2 separate regions of the Homo sapiens genome follow, and region 2 is linked to region 1. Evidence: promoter capture Hi-C in human tissues and cell types (Jung and others, 2019). All regions are on one chromosome and are shown on one strand. The core of a region is centred on a gene start or on the middle of the fragment in contact, and the rest is flanking DNA. Distances in the headings are between cores, read along the strand shown.

Region 1 (5,759 bases), core at 2,240-4,739:
GAAGTTGCAGTGAGACAAGATCATGCCACTGCATTCCAGCCTGGGCGACAGAGTGAGACTCTGTCTCAAAAAAAAAAAAAGGCCAGGCATGGTGGCTCATGCCTGTAATCCTAGCATTTTGGGAGGCCAAGACAGGAGGATCACTTGAGACTAGGAGTTCAAGCCCAGTCTGGGCAACTGAGACCCCATCTCTACATAAGTAATTTTTAAAAATGCAAATGACAGCCAGTGTGGTGTCTCACCCCTGTAATCCCAGGCCAAGGCTGAGGCAGGTGGATCACCTGTCAGGAGTGACCAGCCTGGCCAACATGGTGAAACCCTGTCTCAGAAAAAAAAAAAAAGCAGGGGCTTGGGACAATTTTGAAAAGCTAATATTTTTGCTGGGTGCAGTAGCTCTCGCCTGTAATCCCAGCACTTTGGGAGGCCGAGGTAGACGGATCATGAGGTCAGGAGATCGAGACCATCCTGGCTAACACGGTGAAACCCCGTCTCTCCTAAAAATACAAAAAAATTGGCCGGGCATGGTGGCAGGTGCCTATAGTCCCAGCTATTTGGGAAGCTGAGGCAGGAGAATGGCGTGAACCCAGGAGGTGGAGCTTGCAGTAAGCCAAGACCATGCCACTGCACTCCAGCCAGCGCAACCGAGCGAGATTCCGTCTCAAAAAAAAAAAAAAAGAAAGAAAGAAAAGCTAATATTTTAATATCCCCCTCCTTTCAAGAACTGCCCAAGGAACTGGTCTTACCAAGATTATAATGAACTAAAGATTCAAAAAATGGCCCTGAAGGACAATGAAATAAATAACTAAAGACTACTCAACTTCTCCCTTGCCTCACAAGTGCAGTATAAACTCAGTCGAACAGCAACAAGCTGCCAGCGTCCTCTGGGTTCAGCACCTGCTTTCCTAAAGGATCTCCTGACCAAGGAGCTGGTTTCTTTCAAAATTATTATTTTATTTATTATTTATTTATTTATTTATTTTTGGAGACTGAGTCTCACTCTGTCACCCAGGCTGGAGTGCAGTGGCGCGATCTCAGCTCACTGCAACCTCCGCTTTCCGGGTTCAGGTGATTCTCCTGCCTCAGCCTCCATGCACCACCACGCCCAGCTAATTTTTGTATTTTTAGTAGACATGGGATTTTGCCATTTTGGATAGGCTAATCTCTTAACTACTGACCTCAGGTGATCCGCCCGCCTCAGCCTCCCAAAGTGCTGGGATTACAGACATGAGCTACCGCACCTGGCCTCTTTCAAAATTATACATTCAGAGGTGACAAGATCCTGATAGAAGTGCACAAAGTAGGCTAGGCGCGTGACCAGGCACAGTGGCTCACGCCTGTAATCCCAGCACTTTGGGAGGCCAAGGCAGGCGGATCAGGAGGTCAGGAGTTCGAGATCAGCCTGAACAACATGGTGAAACCAGGTCTCTACTAAAAATACAGAAATTAGCCGGGCATGGTGGCACGCACCTGTAATCCCAGCTACTTGGGAGGCTGGGGCAGGAGACTTGCTTGAACCCAGGAGGCAGAGGTTGCAGTCAGCTGAGATTGTGCCATTGCACTCCAGCCTGGGTGAGAGAACGAGACTTCGTCTCAGAAAAAAAAAAAAAAAGTAGGCTTGGCGCGGTGGCTCATGCCTGTAATCCCAACAATTTGGGAGGCGGAGGCGGGTTGATCATGAGGTCAGGAGTTCGAGACCAGTCTGGCCAACATAGTGAAACCCCGTCTCTACTAAAAATACAAAAATTAGCCAGGTGTGGTGGCACGTGCCTGTAGTCCCAGCTACTCGGGAGGCTGAGGCAGGAAAATTGCTTGAACCAGGGAGTCAGAGGTTGCAGTGAGCCGAGATGGCACCACTGTACTCCAGCCTGGCAACGGAGCAAGACTCCATCTCAAAAAAACAAAACAAAACAAAACAAAACAAAAAGTGCACAAAGTATTGTCGCTTGACTTCTTAGTCATCTCATGCAGGCATATTCTATGACCACATACAAGAAGACTGTACAAAGAACCAAAGAGGCCACAGGTCAAGAGAAATGTGTTTTGGAGCAATGAGAACTCTTCCTAGACCTGCACACTCTACTGAGGATCTCCAACTTGCCCAAATTCACAGGAAAGGGGCTTGAAGGTGTTTTCACTGAGCAAGATAATTTTAGTACTGTTAAAAGTTAATTTGCGCCGGGCATAGTGGCTCACACTTGTAACCCCAGCACTTTGGGAGGCCAAGGGGGGTGGATCACGAGGTCAGGAGTTCGAGACCAGCCTGGCCAACATGGTGAAACCCCGTCTCTATTAAAAATACAAAAATTAGCCGGGCATGGTGGCGCGTGTCTGTAGTCCTACCTACTCGGGAGGCTGAGGCAGGATAATCGCTTGAACCCGGGAGGTGGAGGCTGTGGTGAGCCGAGATCGCGCCACTGCACTCCGGCCTGGGCAACAGAGCGAGAGACTCTGTCTCAAAAGAAAAAAAAGAAAAAAAACAGTTAATTTGCCAGTTCCATATCATCCACAACAAAAACAAGTTTCTTTTTCCGATTCTAAGACACTCCTACGTTTCCTTTGTCTCCTATGGCGAGCATCCCTTTAGGAGATAAAATCAAGTCATCACCATAATACTCACTTTCTCCTAAAGCAAAAAGAGGAAGACATTACCACTCTCCAAAAAGTGGTGGTGAAGAACCAAAGAAATTATGTTCCAAAATAAAACTCAGCCATTATGGACATTTAACCAGGTTCTTTGCGAGGAAAACGGTGAGCTTCGAGGTACACGTGAGGTTCCGAACGGGTCTCAGGAAGCAGCAGCCAGGCAGAGGGTCCCCCTTGCCATAATCATAGGGCCGTGACACCGGCCTGCCTGGCTCGCGGGGGCTTTGGCTTGCTTCGTCTAGTCTTAGCATCCAGCGTCCTGAAAATCACTCGCAGGAACGCTATCTAAGAAAGAGGTAAGTCTATTTCTCAGCCAGGAGCAACATAACTCCCAGGAGAGCATCAGGGTGGCACCGGACACACTTTAGCGCTCCGGATCAGCGGAGTCCAGAGCTTCGGTCAGAGAAGCTGGTTTCCCGCTACTAGCCGGCCAACCCTCAGGCACTGGCGCTCTCCGTCCTCCACACCGGCTGTCCCCCCGGCTTCGGTGCCAGCATCTGGGAGGCTCGGCGGGCGGCCGGTCAGGACGCTCGAGCGATGTTCCAGTGATGGCCCCACCGGAGCCCCGACCCCACACGCGCCCACTCCAACCCCGCGCCCGCCACCGCCCTCCCCGCGGGCGTCAGGCCGGTCTATCGGCCCGGCTCCTGTCACTCACCTGCCCGGCCCGGGCACCGAGCGCCCACGGCTCCCTACGGGAGCTGGGCCCCCCGGGCCTCCAGGTTTCGGCCCGCCCCCTGGCAGGCAGCACAGGTGGCTGAGCACCGCTACAGCGGCCTCTCACCGGCCGCTTGGTCCAGCTCCCGGCGCTGCCCACTGGGTACGGATCAACAACAAGATGGCGGCTAGCCGAGGGGGCGGGGGCCGGGCGTCATAGTAACCAGGACTGCAAAGAACCCGCCCCCGAGGGGGTGCTATCCCCAATCAACAGTCTTTTTGCTCGTCGCCAGGGGAAGTGCTTCCTGCTGACAGGTCAGCTCACGTGTCAGTCAGAGTCTGCCTCTCAGGGCCTCTGCCGAAAGCGTGGGGCACGTGACTGTGACGGCATGGGTTGGCGCATGCGCTTCGTTCCCGGAGTGGCTGGCGGCGGAGTTTTCGCTGGCTACTACGAGGCCGGAGCGCCCTTGGCCTCTCTGCGTCCCTGGCCCTCGTGCGGTACCGGCGGCGTCTTGTCATACACTTGCGCACACACAGGGAATCTCAGCGGTGTGCTATTCGTTTTTTTGTCCCCCACTCTGGGAGAAGGGGGGTGCAGCCCCCAGTTCACTCTGGAGAGGAAACTGAGGCTCAGAGAGGGGAGGCCGAGCCAAGGTCACGCCACCTCTAGAAATGGAGGTGCTGGGTCTCGCACCTCCTCCTGCTGGTTTCAGAGTGTGAGGAGCCTCTATCCCAGCTTCCCACGCTTTGTCCCTTACTAGCCTCGAGGTACCGCAGTCTGTGCTGCCACAGCAGCCTCTGGCTCATTGCCCATGCTTTCCTGCCTGAGGTTTAGAGCCTAGCACAAGTCCTGACACACAGCGGGCACTCCCTTTTCTCTTCCCTAGAGCATCTTGTCTTGAGATCCTGTGACAGCATCTTTTGCCCTGGACTGTCATGACCGGCCTCCCAAGCAGACTAATGGTCCCAGGAAGATGGTCACACCTTGCTCCCCATACAGAACACCTAACTCTGGGCTTGGCTTCAGGCTTAGAACAACAGATGAAGTTACGTGGCCTGGGCCCACACCCAAATGCCCCAACTAGCTAACTCTGACTTTTGAGCCTTAGCCTCTCTTTAGCTTTGGTTGTCCCATCTGTAAAATGAAGATAAAAGTGGAGCTTCTCAGAGGAAGATTTAATGAGCCCTCAGAGCAGGGGAAGAACTCAGGAAAAATCTGCCTACAACCACTTCCTGGAACAACCTGCTTCCAAGTTGCTGTTCCTGAGGCGTGCCTTAAAACACTAACTTTGGTGGAAGCCCCATGAAGCGTTTTTGTTTTGCTTTGTTTTGTTCCCACAGAAGGCTTTCAGCTTCTTCCTGGCCCTGGGATACCATAACTGGTTCAGAAGGGGAGGTCCTCCTAGCTAGGCGCAGTGGCTCATGCCTGTAATCCAGCACTTTGGGAGGCCAAAGAAGGTGGATCACTTGAGGTCAGAGGTTCGAGACCAGCCTGGCCAAAATGGTGAAACCCTGTCCCTACTAAAAATACAAAAATTAGCTGGACGTGATGGCAGGTGCCTGTAATCCCAGCTACTCAGGAGGTTGAGGCAGGAGGATCACTTGAACCTGGGAGGCAGAGGTTCAGTGAGCTGAGATCACGCCACCACACTCTAGCCTGGGTGACAGAGCAAAATTCTGTCTCAAAAAAAAAAAAGGGAGGTTCTCCAGTACCCTGAGGGGGTTCAGGCCCACAGACTCAACAGACGAGTAAAGACTGTGATAACTTGGATTTACCACAGTAAGGTCCTCTTGGAGAGCTGGCAGAAGCCTGAGACCTGATGTCAGGTTGGGCATGGAGAGTGGGCCAACACTGCATCCAGCAAGACCTGCCCACCAGCAGATTGCTGCAGGCCACTTGGCTACATGCAATAGCTCAGGTCAACACAGGGAGATGTGAGAGCAGAGGAACCAGAAGAAACAGATCAGGAAGAAAAGCCAACAACCCTCAAAAGGGGGATTCTGCTAATCCTCCAGGACCAGCCATGCCACAGGATTCTCAAGTCTGCATCACCCCTCACCGCAGTGCAAAAGCTCCAGATCCTTCCCAAGAAAACCTCCACATACAGTTGGCAAATTGCCCTGAAGTTTGATGGGACCCTCAAAAAGCAACAGTGGTATAACTACTGTGGATAACAGTTCGGAGGTTCCTCAGAAAACTAAAAATACAGCTACCACATGATCCAGCAATCCCACTGCTGGGTATGTACCCAAAGGAAAGGAAATCAGTATATCAAAAAGATATCTGCACTTCCATGTTTGCTGCAGTGCCATTCACAATAGCCAAGATTTGGAAGCAACCTAAGTGTCCATCAACAGGTGAATGGATAAAGAAAATATGGTACATATGGGCCGGGTGCGGTGGCTCACGCCTGTAATCCCAGCACTTTGGGAGGCCGAGGCGGGCGGATCATGAGGTC
Region 2 (5,759 bases), core at 2,216-4,715, 460 kb after region 1:
GACTTCATTCTTTCCCTAATATTATGCTTGTTCTCCCATAAGCCCCAGTCTTAGACTGAGACCAAGCCTGGGGAAGGCTCAGAAGCTATTGAAGTCCATGGTGAGGGCCTCTGAGACTGGGAATTGTCCAGAGGAGTGAAATGAAAGCATGTTCCTTAGGGCTGCACTGTGAGCACAGGCTCAGTGCTGGGTGCACGTACGGTACTGTGTGGTGGTAGAATGTGGCCATGGTGTTGGCTGATGACTGCATGATAGTTGTTGAGGCTGGTTCCTCTTGCTCCTTGGCCTCCGAATCTCAGTGCTGTGGCCTAGTGGGGCCTTGCCCTCTCTTGTAGGGGTTCCTAGGGGTTCTGCTGTGTTGCCAGGCCAGGCCGTAAGGGACTGAGGGGGCTGAGGAAGGCTTAGGAGAGCCAGAGCAGAAGCGTCCAAGCCTCTCTGGGCCATGAAGCCATGCACAGAGCAGAGACCCGTGCATCCTCATGGCCACCCAAGACTGTGGGTCCCAGAGGGTCCAGTTCCTCACCATGAGACCTCAGACTGTCCTCTTCCCTCTCTGTATCCAGCACTAGAATCTGTGATGCTGTGATTTTTTTTTTTTTTTTCTGAGACTGAGTTTCGCTCTTGTTGCCCAGGCTAGAGTGCAGTGATGCAATCTCGGCTCACCACAACCTCCGCCTCCCAGGTTTAAGTGATTCTCCTGCCTCAGCCTCCAGAGTAGCTGGGATTACAGGCATGTGCCACCATGCCCGGCTAATTTTGTATTTTTAGTAGAGACAGGGTTTCTCCATGTTGGTCAGGCTGGTCTCGAACTCCTGACCTCAGGTGATCCGCCCACCTCAGCCTCCCAAAGTGCTGGGAATACAGGCGTGAGCCACCCCGCCCCGCCAGTGCCGTGATTCTTAGCATGGTCTCCTGGCCTGTGGACACAAGGACAGCTGCTGGCTTGGGTTGGGCCCTGAGGCAGTTTGGGGTGACTTTGAAGAGGCTACTCAGGGCAGGCCTTGGGTTTGGCACCCTCCCTCAAGGGGTACATTTCATAGATGAGGCCTAGGCTCCCGTTATCTTTCCCAGAGTCCACCGCCATGAATCAGAAGGGAAAAGAGGTCATTCAGGTGCCTTGGGAACAGCGGAGGGATGCCTGAAATGAAGAGGCCTCCAGGGAGACGGTGCCAAATGGCCCAGCTCCGCGTGATCCGCGTCTTGTCCAGCACCTCCTGGCTCCTGCACAGGCGGTACCTGGGGCCTGAGGCGCCAGCGATGAACAGGTCTGGGGCCTCCTTTATATCAGGCCAGCCTTCCTCACCCGGTGCCTGAGTTTCCCTCTGTGCAGTGGAAAGGGCCCCACTGAGGGAGACACACCTTGCCCCAGAAAGACTTTCCCATGTGTGGGCAGGACCTGAGGCCTCAGTTTCCCTAACACAGAGATCTCTGACTTGGCAGTAGGAAGCCAGGCCCTGCTTGGTAGTGCTCCCCTTTGGGCACTGTGAACCCCTGGAAGCCGCTGGAGGCAGCCGAGTGCCAGAGACTGGCGGGAGGGAGGTGTGGAGTCTGTTGGTCTGTTCAGGCATCCGTTATAGGGCCATGCCACACACATGGGTGGGAGTGTTGCCGGTCCCTTTCAAGACCTCGAGTCCCTGCCTCCCAGTGCCGGACCCGTGCTGAGCCTTCTCGGAGGGAATGAGGGGGGCCGGGGAGCAGCACCTGGAGGAAGGAAGAGACGCCAGGGGCGGGGCTCAGAGGGCCTTTGTCTGGCGGGGTCTCTGCCCCTCCCTCCCGTTGCCATGGTTTCTGTGTGTGCCGAGTCTCTGCAGGCTGGGGGCTTCCCAGGGACGGGCTGGTGGGTGGGACACCTTCCCCAGTCGCCCCTGGCTGAGGCTGCTTTTCTGAAACAAAACGCTCCCCAGTGCTGCCCAGCCCCCACTTCCTTCCACAGTGTCTCCGGCTGCCGGGCGCCCCCTGGTGGTGGCGGGGCATGGGTCCCTAGGACTGCAGGGGACGTGGGGGTGCACGGGATCTGAGAACCACAGGCTGAGCTGGAGATGTGGCACCTTCCTGGGATAAGAGAAGGAGGTGGTGTCCGGGCTGCCTTTGTGGTGGGCTCAGGGCTACCCCCACCTGCCCCACCATATCCCACTGGGATAGGCTGGGGAGTTGTGGCAGTGTGGGCGGGCCTGGTGTTGTGGGTTTGAGCTGGGCCGCTGCCCAAGTCTACCCTGTGGTCCCAGCCGCTGCTGCTTCTGAGAATCTCTGCCCTCGGGCCTGCCACGTCAGCTGGCTGCTCTTCCTGGCCCCACGTGTTCCCACGGAGCCCACCAGTATGGGGGTTCTCTCCAGGGAGGTGTGCCTGGCTTTCTGGGTGTGTGCAGCCAGTGAGCAATGTCAGCAGTGAGGCTCCTGGGCAGGAAGGAGGCCCCAGCTGTGTAGGAGTGCCGGGTTATACTGAAGGGAAGTGACGACACAGCGGAAAGCCAACAGAGGAGCCAGTAGCTCTGACTCCTGTCCCAGGTTATGCTGAGTCCCAGCAGGGAACCACCACAGCTCTGAATCAGCCTGTTAGCCGCTGTCCATTGCTCTTCATCTGCTCTTTATCTGAAAATCTTCAGAAGCTTTCCTTCAAATGAGATGACCACAGCAGTCTTCTCTGCAGGTTGCAGGAAATGAGAGGTTTGGGGAAATCTGTACTCTTTCAAAGGGTAGATAAATAGTGATAACTTTTACCTGAATGCTCACATGTGCCCCACACTGTGAGAAGAGCTTTGCATTTAATCCTTACCCATCTCTCAGAAGGAGACAGCGTTGTCCCATTTCACAGATGAGGTGCCAGAGAAAGGGCAGGAAAGGAGCTGAAGCTCTTGAGGATCTCAGGAAGGATCAGAGTGGACATCAGGGCTGTGGCAAGTCTGGACCTCCTTCTGGGAGAGGATCTGAAAATGGGAGGCAGGCTGGCTGGCTGCTTGAGGCTTGACAGCTCTGCCCAGGGGAAACTGAAGCCAGAAAGGATAGTAGCAAGTCCCAGCCTCCCAGCAGATCAAAGCCTATTAAGGAGTTAGAGGGTCCAAGATGAACAGATGCTGTGACTTGAATGCTGGGGCCTGGACTAAGCATCAAGTGACAAGACCTGTGGGCCTGTCTCTCCTGCTGCAGGGGCCCTGCTGGTCTTGTTCACGCAGGTGGAGTGGTACTGTCTCCCTTCTCTCATCGGTTCCCTCCTCTGGGGCTCAGCACTCCCAAAGTGGAAGCAGATGTTCTAGTGCAGAGCAGCTGCCACCACCCAGCACATCACTATGATTACTGCCTACCTGCTGTGGGCCCTAACTGCGCCACAGGGCAAAGGCTGCAGAGGTTTCTTCCTTGGTGGGAAGAGGTGTGACTCAGTGGGAATGCCAAGGCCACCCCAGGGAACCTCTGCAGGCCTCTCTGGTCTTACCCAGCTGGGGACAGAGCACTTGGTGGGGCCCTCTGCGGGCAGGAGGGGCTGATTCATGCCACCTTCTATTGCCTCAGTTCCCCTACCCAGCATCTTTGCAGAAATCTGGACTCAGGCTGGACGCGGTGGCTCACGCCTGTAATCCCAGCACTTTGGGAGGCCAAAGCAGGTGGATCACTTGAGGTCAGGAGTTCGAGACCAGCCTGGCCAACATGGTGAAACCCTGTCTCTACTAAAAATACAAAAATTAGCCGGGCGTGGTGGCACATGCCTGTAGTCCCAGCTACTGGGGAGGCTGAGGCAGGAGAATTGCTTGAACCGGGAGGCAGAGGTTGAACCGGGAGGCAAAGGTTGCAGTGAGCCAAGATCATGCTATTGCACTCCAGCCTGAGCAACAGAGCGAGACTGTGTTTCAAAAAAAAAATCTGGACTCAGCCACCCCTCTGAGAGGCAGGTGCGAGGGGAGCTGGGTGTGTGCAAAACTCACAGATAAGCCTCTTGCCAGCTTATCTGGTAGGGGGCATCCCTCAGGTCCTGATGGAAAGAGGACCCAGCCAGAGATGGGGAGAGTGAAGCTACTACCCCACAGCTGCCAGGGCACTTAGCCTGTGGGCTGCCCGAGAGCTCTTCACCCCACCCATTCCACCCAGATGCCATCCTGGGGCTCCACCCACCTCTGCTCCTGTCCCCCTTCTCTGCTGGAGCTGCTCCTGGGCTGTGCCCCTGCCTCTGTCCCGTTGTTCCCCCTGCTTCCTGCCTGGCTGCCAGCACCACACCCTTGTCCTGCCACTCACTACTTCCCGCCTGAGTCACAGCTGCTGGAAAGACAAAGAGACCAGCCTGAGTCTAGGGATAGGGGCTCCATGACCTTGATTTGCTTACCTGTCAAGTGGAACTCTTTTTTCAGTGACCCCTGCTTGGGATAGAGAATGTTCTCTTAACATTTAAGAGGCCTTAGGAGGGGAAAATGAAACTTGAAGGGGACAGGGAAGTGGGCCCTCCCTGGCTGGGGCAGGGAGCAGATATCCTGGCTCCTAGTGTGACTGGCTCTGTGCTGCCTACCTCATGTCTACCAGGTCTAGCTGCTGCTAGGAAAATCAGATGCAAAGCAAGTTTGCACCCTCGTCCCTGGGCAGGGTCACGAAGCGGCCCACATCACCTACTAAGAGTGGGCAAAAGGCCAGACCCCCTCTTCACTCTCAGTGGCCAGATAGGGAAACTGATGCCTCAAGTGGGCAGGAGTCCCGAAGTCACACAAGATGGGGAAGCTTTCACCCTAGACCTCAGGTCCCCCATGCCCTGGGTAGCTTCCCTGCTGAGTCTGAGCTCGCCTGGCTCGGGACTGCATGGGGACCCATGACTTCGCATCCTTGGCCTCTGCTCCTGCAGTTCCCCCCATCCTGGCTGTGACTGGCTCCTGGTTCTTCCTCCTGCTCTGGAGGAGCCAGTGGGGAAGACAGTCAGGTAGCCACTGCTGCCCTCCCTGCCCCAGTGGGTGCTTTGAGCCCCAGGGGGATGGGCCTTAAGTGTTCAGGCATCGCTGTGAGGCTTTCCTGGGACCTTTCCCCATGTCCTCATTGGCAGGTGGAGGAGTGTTGGTATGCAGATCCTGGCTGCCCCTTTGCCATGCACAGCCCAATGGGGAGGGAGTGGTGCTGGTATATATCCCGGTACACACCCCAGTGAAGATACTGGGCCCGGCCCCTGTAGTGCCCAGGGGCTAAAGCAATAGAGGGGATTGCTGCCCCAGCCACAGCGCCCCAGCCTTCCCAGGGCCTGCACATTTGTATGTCCACAAGATTGTGCAACCATCACTGCTATCTAATTCCAGAACATAATCACCACCCTCAAAAATAAACTTCATACCCAACTAGCTGTCACTCCCCATCTCCCCAGATCCCCTCCCCTCATCCTGGAAAGCAGGCCTGGGACAGTCAGAAGCTCAGTGATTGCAGGCGCCTGATGGCATTTGTGAGGAGGGCTCAGGCCTTTCCCCTCAGGGTGGTCTCTGGCGTAGGGGGCTGAAGGTGGGCAGGGGCCTTGGCAAGGCCTGCCACCATGTCCCAATGCCTGCTGCCGCTTGTTGAGCACTGCAGACATGGCCCAGAGTCTGCCTGGGGAGCTAGGGAGTGAACCCAGTGCCAGGTGGACTGTGTGGCTCCGCTGCAGTACCAGGTACTTAGGACAGCTCTAGGAGGGACTGCACGGTGGGCAAGTGTGCTCCCTGCAGAGGGGACTCTAACCCTGTGACCTCAGCCTCCCTGGACCTCAGTTCCTTCACTGGTTAGATTGGGGTGAGAATGGAACCTACCTCCCAGGATTGCTGTGGAGA

What was found. Contacts are between HindIII fragments. The study calls those that stand out against the background at their distance.
Region 2: a fragment that was not itself captured here is called in contact with the fragment with the promoter of IP6K1 in region 1 in 1 of the 25 tissues and cell types used here (lymphoblastoid cells).

Annotation. Positions count from the first base shown.
Region 1 is chr3:49,783,053-49,788,811 of GRCh38, forward strand. It overlaps IP6K1 (inositol hexakisphosphate kinase 1), which reads right to left and starts at 3,490. Exons shown (of 6, transcript NM_153273.4): 1 at 3,302-3,490. RefSeq lists silencers at 3,104-3,453, 4,189-4,353, 5,134-5,343 and enhancers at 3,168-3,857, 3,944-4,013. The HindIII fragment of the contact is 27,523 bases long and covers 1-5,759 here.
Region 2 is chr3:50,244,412-50,250,170 of GRCh38, forward strand. The region is part of intron 1 of GNAI2 (G protein subunit alpha i2); the gene reads left to right. Among named protein-coding and RNA genes, the nearest start is that of GNAI2, 11 kb to the left of the region's middle. RefSeq lists enhancers at 1,228-1,943, 1,676-1,775, 1,944-2,659. The HindIII fragment of the contact is 4,753 bases long and covers 1,090-5,759 here.